Regions from separate parts of the Homo sapiens genome. Here region 2 is linked to region 1. Evidence: promoter capture Hi-C in 16 types of primary human blood cells and fetal thymus (Javierre and others, 2016). All regions are on one chromosome and are shown on one strand. Each heading gives the region's core, a stretch centred on a gene start or on the middle of the fragment in contact. The rest is flanking DNA. Distances are from core to core; before and after follow the strand shown. Region 1 holds the start of METRNL (meteorin like, glial cell differentiation regulator). Region 2 overlaps TBCD (tubulin folding cofactor D).

Evidence for each region. Contacts are between HindIII fragments. The CHiCAGO score rates a contact against its expected background, and 5 or more counts as called.
Region 2: a contact is called between a fragment that was not itself captured here and the fragment with the promoter of METRNL in region 1, in 1 of 17 cell types (total B cells). The highest score is 6.5, in total B cells.

The regions. Positions count from the first base shown.
Region 1 is chr17:83,077,026-83,080,859 of GRCh38, forward strand. It overlaps METRNL (meteorin like, glial cell differentiation regulator), which reads left to right and starts at 2,584. Exons shown (of 4, transcript NM_001004431.3): 1 at 2,584-2,960. The coding sequence starts at 2,791. The HindIII fragment of the contact is 18,805 bases long and covers 1,419-3,834 here.
Region 2 is chr17:82,818,238-82,822,502 of GRCh38, forward strand. The region is part of intron 13 of TBCD (tubulin folding cofactor D); the gene reads left to right. Among named protein-coding and RNA genes, the nearest start is that of ZNF750, 20 kb to the right of the region's middle. The HindIII fragment of the contact is 1,636 bases long and covers 910-2,545 here.

The sequences.
Region 1 (3,834 bases), core at 1,334-3,833:
AGTGGCTGGGAACACCCCCAGACAGCCTTGACCACCTCAGCCTGCATCCTCTAGGAGCCTGATACCTCCTGACACCAGGAACCCCGTCTACAGGGGACGTCTCACCTGTAGGTGGCCTCGCTGGGCCAGGACAGGGGTCAGCAGAGGTGCCCAGGAGCACCCAATGTCTCTGGGGCATGAACCTCCTCAAGGGAACAGCTTGGGGAACCACAGCCCCAGGGTGGAAAGGGCCAGGCTCCTTTCCCAAGACAGATTAGCTTCTTCCGAGAATACTGGCCAGCAAGCATTCTTACTCTAGTTTTGTTTTGTTTTAATTAGCAGACTTAATGTTTTAGGTTTACAGAAACACCAAGCAGATGGTAGAGGTCCCCCACACACCCTCTCCCTGACCCAGTTTCTCTTATGATTACCTTCTCTCATTAGGGTGTAGGCGTGTGACAGTCAAAGAACCAATATTGATCCGTTATTATTACAAATGTCTCAAGCCTCCATCAGGATTCACTCTTGTGCTGTATTTTCTACGGGTTTTGAAAAGTACACGTGGGTCCCATACTCACCATCGTACGATCCCAGTCTTAGGACAGCCCGCTGGGCACAGGAGGCTGGGCATCCTGCCAGGTGGCAGATCTCTGCCCCAGCCTAGGCTGGAACCAGCTGCCTGCTGACCAGAGGCGGCCTCTCCCCTTCGGTCTAGCAGCCACCAGGGGCTCTGAGACCCTGAGCAGGTCACGGCAGGTCCTGAGTTCCCCATGTCCGCATCTATAACTCAAGAGATCCCAGCACTGCCCTGCCTCTTCCGTGGTGTGATGATCTGGACCCTGATAGGCCATGTGGCCCTTCAAGGGTGGACCGGGCCTGGGGGGGCTGCTATCTTATGCTTGGTGGGCATGGAAAGCAGTTGCTGCGCACAGGTGTGAAGCCGCAGGTCCCTTTCCACAGCAGGTCCCTTTCCACAGCAGGTCCCTTTCCACTGGGCACCCTGGTACCTGCAGTGATGGGGGTGGGGGGAGGTGCACTCCTAGAGCAGACGGGGGTGGGTGGGGCAGTCTCCAAGCTCCGAAATGCACCTCCACCAGACCTTGAGCCTCAGGGTGATGTCACTTGATGTGCTGGGCAAGGTCCTGGCTCCAGGCTTTCGATGGGGTGGGTGCTCTGAACAGATCCTTACAATGAAACTACCTTCAGTGGTCACTGTCATCGCCTTCCAGTTCTTCAGACCCTCACCCTTGTCCCAGCTTTCCTGGGCTGGGGGCTGGGCTCCACCTGCCTTTGCCGGTGACTTCCGTCCCTGCAGACTCACAATTTTCAAAGCCCTCTCCCCGCCTCCTCTGGTAGTCACAACCCAGTTATTCAGACTTGCACAGGTCGTTCGCAAGTCCTCCTGGAAGGTATCTTGGCTGGAAAAGGGGACAAGGCCAAGCTTCCCCACCGCTGGATGCTGCGCTCGGCTCTGGAACTGACACCAGGCGTCTCGGGCAGGGCCACTGACCCGCAGCACACAGAAGCCAGCTTTGCCATCGCAGCGGGGACCGCCGGGCGGGCCAGCTCCGCCCTCTCCTGCCTGGGGGGCCCTCGGCACCCTCTGGCTCCCCTTCTCTGGCCTGAGTCTCTAGGGCCTCCCCAGTCCGGGCGGGGGTCTCCGCTGTCCCCCCCACTGGGTCAGGCACGTGGTGGCCGCGGTGACCACCTGGGGAAGGCGCCGACTCCGAGGAACACACTCGAGCAGGACGCTCCGCAGGTGATTCTGCCCCGCGGGCACGGGGTGGGGGCGGGATTTGGCCAAATCTGCAGAGAGTTTAGGTTGTCAAAGCTGGGGCGGGGGTTGCTACTGATACCCAGAGTGCGGGGGCCAGGGTGCTGCCAACATCCCACCATGCGCAGGACGTCCCCACCCCAAGAACCACCCGGCCCCGCGTATCCGGAGCGAGGAGTGGGCAGCGCTCGGCAGAGGCCCCGGCGCGGCGGCTGCACGTCCTCCGGGAGGAGGGAGGGAAGCCGGGCTCACCGCCGGGCCTCCCCCCCGGTCAGGAGGGAGCCGGGAACTCCCGAGGCACCAACTCTGCGGAACGCGGGGCGCCCGGATCGCCCCTGATCACCGCCCGCTGGCGAGGCGCGGGGGACCCAGAACCGGCGGGGCCGGGAGCCTCCTTTACCGCTCCGCGCCGGGGCTGCCCGCAGGATGGGGCGCAGGATGGGGCGCAGGATGCGGCCCCGGCACCGCCTCGCGGGGGTCTGCGGGGGGCGACCGCGGCTCGCGTCGGCCACTACTTGGGGGTCTCGGGTTTCCGCCCCGCCCTCGCCTTGCAACCCCTCCGGCCCCGGACTCCGCTTTCCAGGCCGGGCTCTTCCCTCCGGACCCCGCTCGCCGCCCGGCGCGGCCCCCTCCTCCTGCAGCGCCCCCCGCCCCGGCGCCCGCGCCCCCGATTCGCTGCTGACTCGGTGTCTGCGCGTCCGGCCGGGCGCCCCGGGAGGAGTTTCCGGCGCGGGGCGGGGTCGGGGGCGGGGTCGGGGGCGGGGCGGGGCGGCGGGTGGGCCCCACCCCCCAGCTGAGCCCGGCCGGGCGGACTCGGACTCGCCAACTTCAGAGGCTCGGCGGCGGCGGCGGGCGCGGAGCTCTGCGCGCGGCTCCAGCGGGCCGGGATGGGCGGGCGGCCGCGCGGAGGACGCGGGGGGCGCGCGACGTGACCACCCGGACTCGAAGCCCGCCCCGCCCCCGCCCGGCTCGCCGGCTCCGGGGTCTGCTCCGGGGGTCGCGGACGCGGGGCCGGGCGGCGGAGCCGGCGCCAGAGCATGCGGGGCGCGGCGCGGGCGGCCTGGGGGCGCGCGGGGCAGCCGTGGCCGCGACCCCCCGCCCCGGGCCCGCCCCCGCCGCCGCTCCCGCTGCTGCTCCTGCTCCTGGCCGGGCTGCTGGGCGGCGCGGGCGCGCAGTACTCCAGCGACCGGTGCAGCTGGAAGGGGAGGTGAGTGTGCGCGGCGCGACCCCGGCCCGGCCCCCTCCCCTCGCGTCCCCTCCCGTCCCGGGCCGGCCGAGCGTGCGGGGGCGCGGCCGGGGGCGGGCGCGGGGCAGGGGCTCCGGGGGCCGCTCTCCAGGCCCAGTCCGGTGCCCGCTGTCCCCCGCCCCCGGTTCTAGAACAAAAGAGCCCGCGGCGTCCCGGTTCCCGGCCCGGAGGACGCCCGGGGGAGGCGCGCCTGCAGCGCGGCCGGGTGGGTCCCGGCTCCGCGCGTGTCCGAGCCTCGGGGGCCGCCGGTCCCGCGACCCCATCCCGGGGGCAGGCGGGGGTCGGTCCTCGGGCCCTTCCTGGCAGGCTCCGGGAGTTGCGCGCCCCGAGGCCGCCCCGGGCCAGAGCGGGAAGGGACGGCCGCGGGAGGGAGCGGCGGTTTCGGGGATCGGGCGCGGACCGCAGCGGGGGCCACTTCCGTCTCGGGGAGCCGCGGGCGGGCACCTGTGAGCCGGGCCGAGTGTGGCTCCGGCCGGGCCCCCCGCCCCTGCCCCGTGAAGGTCAGGCCGCCCTTGGCCGCGGCGCGCGCTGCGCTGGGCGACCCCCCCCCCCCCCACCCGCGGTGGCGGCCGAGGACTTTTTTTTTTTTTTTTTTTTTTTGACTCAAGCGTGGCCGCCGAGAGCGGCGCCGACCGCGACTGCCCCTCGGGAGCCGCCGCCGCTCCCACGCGAAGCCCAGGGCGCCGAGGGCACCGCGGCCGAACCCGCCCTGCGCGAGCCTCGCAGTCGCCAGTTCCGGGGTTCGCAGATGCGCGGGGACCCGAGTGACGCGCGCCTCCCGGAGAGCCGTGGCCGGGCTGGCCCGGGCCTGGGTCCCGCTTCCCCTCGGCGCGGC
Region 2 (4,265 bases), core at 478-2,977, 260 kb before region 1:
CCATGTGAGCTGAACCCTCTTTGCAGCCCCCATTCTGTTCCTGGTGGGACATGGAGAAGCTGTGCTGTCTCTGCACAGGGCAAGGGTTCTTTCAGGCAGGGGTGAAAGAGATCCCATCTTGGGGCTGACTCAGGAGGTGACAGGGCTGACATTTGATGAGCATTTGCAGCATGCTTTTTATGTTTTTGTTTTAGACCTCACACCATTCCTCTGAGAGCCGTCTTGTTTATATAAAGCTATAGTTGGGAGCCACGTGTGGTGGCGGTGCCTTTAATCCTAGCCTCTTGGGAGGCCAAGGCAGGAGGATCACTTGAGCCTAGGAATTTGATACCAGCCTGGACATCATAGTGAGACACCCTCTCTGAACAAACAAACACACACACACAAACACTGCAGCTGTGGGAGCCAGGAAGTCTTTCTGGTGTCACAGCTCATGCTCAGCCCTTCGGCCTCCTCCATGTCACACGGCTGAGCTGTCCCTGCACCTCCTTGTCTCCTTGGAGAGTTACTGTGGTTCTCTGTCAGTTTGGTTTGAAAAGTGAAAACAGGCTGGGCACGGCGGCTCATGCCTATAATCCCAGCACTTTGGGAGGCCAAGGCGGGGGGATCACCTGAGGCCAGGAGTTCGAGACCAGCCTGGCCAACATGGTGAAACCCCGTCTCTGCTAAAAATACAAGGATGTGGTGGTGCATGTCTGTAATCCCAGCTACTCGGGAGGCTGAGGCAGAAGAATCGCGTGAACCCAGGAGGCAGAGGTTGCAGTGAACCGAGATCGCACCACTGCACTCCAGCCTGGGTGACAGAGCAAGATCCTGTCTCAAAAAAAAGAAAAAAAAGCGCGAAAACAAATGCTTGGCAAATAAATGTCGTAGAAAGACACAATATAGATGAGCATGTTTGATGACTAAAGCTTTTGTTTGTCTTAGAGGAAATGTGGAGCTTCATTGGTGCATGCTAAAGGAGGAAGAAGTAAAACTAGGGAAGTCAGGTGGGCAGGCAGTGATGCGATGTTTGCCTGGAAGGCACCCTGGGTCTTTCTGCCCTTAGTCCTCTGAATAGGGGGACTCTGCCTGCTGGACTCAGGAAAAAAGCATCGCATTTTCTTTGGGTTACTTTTTAGGGAATCCTGCTGATTCCTCTCCACACATACAGTGCACACACACACAGAATCTCCATCTGTTGTGCTGTAAGCCTATTTCTTGGTCTCTGACTCTGTGCACACCACCACGCCCAGCTAATTTTTTAAAGAAATTCGAAAGTAGCCTGCGCAACAAAATGAGATCCTGTTTCTACAAAAATTGTTTTAAAAAGGTAGTTGGGTGCAGTCCCAGCTACTCAGGAGGTTGAGGTGGGAGAATTGCTTGAGTCCAGGAGGTTGAGGCTGCAGTGAGCCATGATCGCAGTGCTGCACTCACGCGATCCTCCTGCCTCGGCCTGTGGACAGTGGGCCATGTTCTTTTTCTCTTTGCATCATCACCTCTGTTTGAGGACTACTGTTAAAGGGCTACTTGGTCTTTATTTTAGGTGATTCAAATTCCAGGACTTTTCTTGAGTGGTCCTGGCGTAGGTCCTTTCACCTTTTTTGTGGCTCCTCTTTGAACACCTCTGTTGTTGTGGCAGGAGGAGGTGGGCACTCCTCACCATGAGTAAGCTCCTACAATGTTTGTGAACCCTTACGGTTTCCTTTGTTGGATACAAGAAGCACAGGTGGGGGGATGTATTGGTTTAAGTTTACCTTTTTTTTTTTTTTCTTTTTTTGAGACAGAGTCTTGCTCTGTTGCCCAGGCTGGAGTGCAGTGGCGCCCTCTTGGCTCACTGCCAGCTCCATCTCCCAGGTTCAAGTGATTCTCATGACTCAGCCTCCCGAGTAGCTGGGAGTCAGGCGCCCGCCACCATGCCCAGCCAATTTTTTTATTTTTAGTAGAGACCAGATTTCTCCATGTTGGCCAGGCTGGTCTCGAACTCCTGACCTCAAGTGATCTGCCTGCCTTGGCTTCCCAAAGTGCTGGGATTACAGGCGTGAGGCACTGCGCCCAGCCAACTGTACTATTTTGATAAAATGTATACATGTGCTCCTTATTATGCATTTTGTGGTTTTCATCAGTATTTTGCTTTTTGAAAAATGTCAAGTGTTCTGATCTCTTTGGACATTTTGTATGAACCCTATTTCCCTTGCTATCCTTATTGATTGAGAATTGTGCATATTGATTTGGGTAATAATAACTAGCACTTGGTGTTTTTCTGAGCTTGGATGTGTAGATTCATGTCTTTCATCAAACTCGGGTAGTTTTCAGTCATTGTTTCTTCAGGTATTTTTGCTGCCCCTCTCCTCTCCTTGTGGGACTCTTGTTATGTTAATACACATGTTGGTACTCTTGGTGGTACCCTATGAGTCTCTTAGGTTTTGCACTCATTTCAGCTCTTGAGTCTTCTTGTTATGTTAATACACATGTTGGTACGCTTGATGGTGCCCTATGAGTTTCTTAGGTTCTGCCCTCATTTCAGCTCTTGAGTCCTCTTGTTATGTTAATACACATGTTGGTAAGCTTGATGGTGCCCTATGAGTCTCTTAGGTTCTGTGCTCATTTCAGCTGTTGAGTCCTCTTGTTGTGTTAATATACATGTTGGTAAGCTTGATGGTGCCCTATGAGTCTCTTAGGTTCTGCACTCATTTCAGCTGTTGAGTCCTCAGTTCCAGAATTTCTCTTTAGTTTCTCTTTTAATAATTTCTTTTTGAGACAGGGTCTTGCTCTGTCGCCCAGGCTGGAGTGCAGTGGTGGTATCACGGCTTACTGCAGCCTCAACCTCCCAGGCCCAAGCAGCTCTCCCGCCTCAGCCTCCTGAGTAGCTGAGACCACAGGCCTGCTGCACTGGAAAAAAAAATTGTAGAAACAGGATCTCACTTTATTGTCCAGACTGCTTTCAAATTCTTGGACTCAAGTGATCTTCCTGCCTTGGCCTGCCTTGGGATTATAGGAGTGAGCTGCTGTGCCCAGCCTGTTTTTATAATTTCTGTCTCTTTATCAACATTCCATGTTAGTTTAAATGTTGTTCTTTTGGTCTCCTTTAGTTCTTTGTCCACAGTTTTCTTGAGATCTGTGAGCATATTTTTGTCTAAGACTGAGCACAGTGGCTCACACTTGCTTCCCAGCACTTAACCTTTGCTTTAAAGCCTAAAAAGGAAGAAATCTTTGCATATGTGTTTCCCAAATAACAGATTTGAGGGCTGTGTTGGTGACATAGGTCTGTTTATACCCACTGTGTGGCTAAAGCAGGTCTCTGTTAAATTAGCATCTACAAAGCTTTTCTCCTGCCTTCCCTCAAACTTAGGAAGCTCCCTATGCAATCTTCAGGCTGGGGTCCTTCACTGCCCCCTCTCAAGGAGGCCTACCCCTTCCCCCAGAAGGTGCAGTCTGTCACCCCATGTCTTATAAAGTGTAATGGTCTGGTGTCCCAAAGCCACAGAGAAGCCCATTCTAACCTTCCTGCAACTTTCTGAAGGTTGGAGAGCATGTTTGTTTTACTGCTAGGAGGCTCAAGGTCCCTGTGAACCTGCATCAGGTAGTAAGCCCTGCATGTCGGAAATACAGACTGCCTAACTCTTATCTAAGGTGATGTTTTGAGAAAATTTTTAAATGTATAATACATTTTATAAATTTCGAAAAAATTTTAATAAACATTAAATTTTTATAAGTTTATATAAATGTTATAAATTTTGAAAAATGTACAGAGTTGCATTGGAGCACACGCTCTCAGTGTTCATCGAAGACGTACAAGCAGCGTCTTACGACGATGTTGCTGCAGCTGCCTTGGGGTCTTGTTAAAAGCACCATTCAGTAGATTAATTCCCACCTGTGGACTGTGTTTTCTGGCTTCCAAAAGAAACTGTCATGTTTTTCTCTCTGGATGACGAAAACTCTGCACGTACTTCCTATGACAAGTGCGATTGGCGCCCACTGCTCTTGGCAGTTGAGGTGAGGACACAGCGTTTCTGTGACGGTGAAGGGGACAGGGTTTGGAGGGAGATTCAGACATTAAACAAGGAAACGAAGGGAGCAATTTCAGAGAATGGATAAAGTCGTTAAGAAAATACAAAAGGGCGGTGAGATCCTCAGTGATGGGGCCAACCAGTGACTTGAATAAGACTTGGGGAAGACCTCCTGGGGCGACATTTACGCTGAGAGCTTCTACCGTGAAGGAGCCGAGCAGGATGGACTCCTGACCGCAGCATCTCAAAGAGGAACGAAGGCTCGCACGAGCTGGG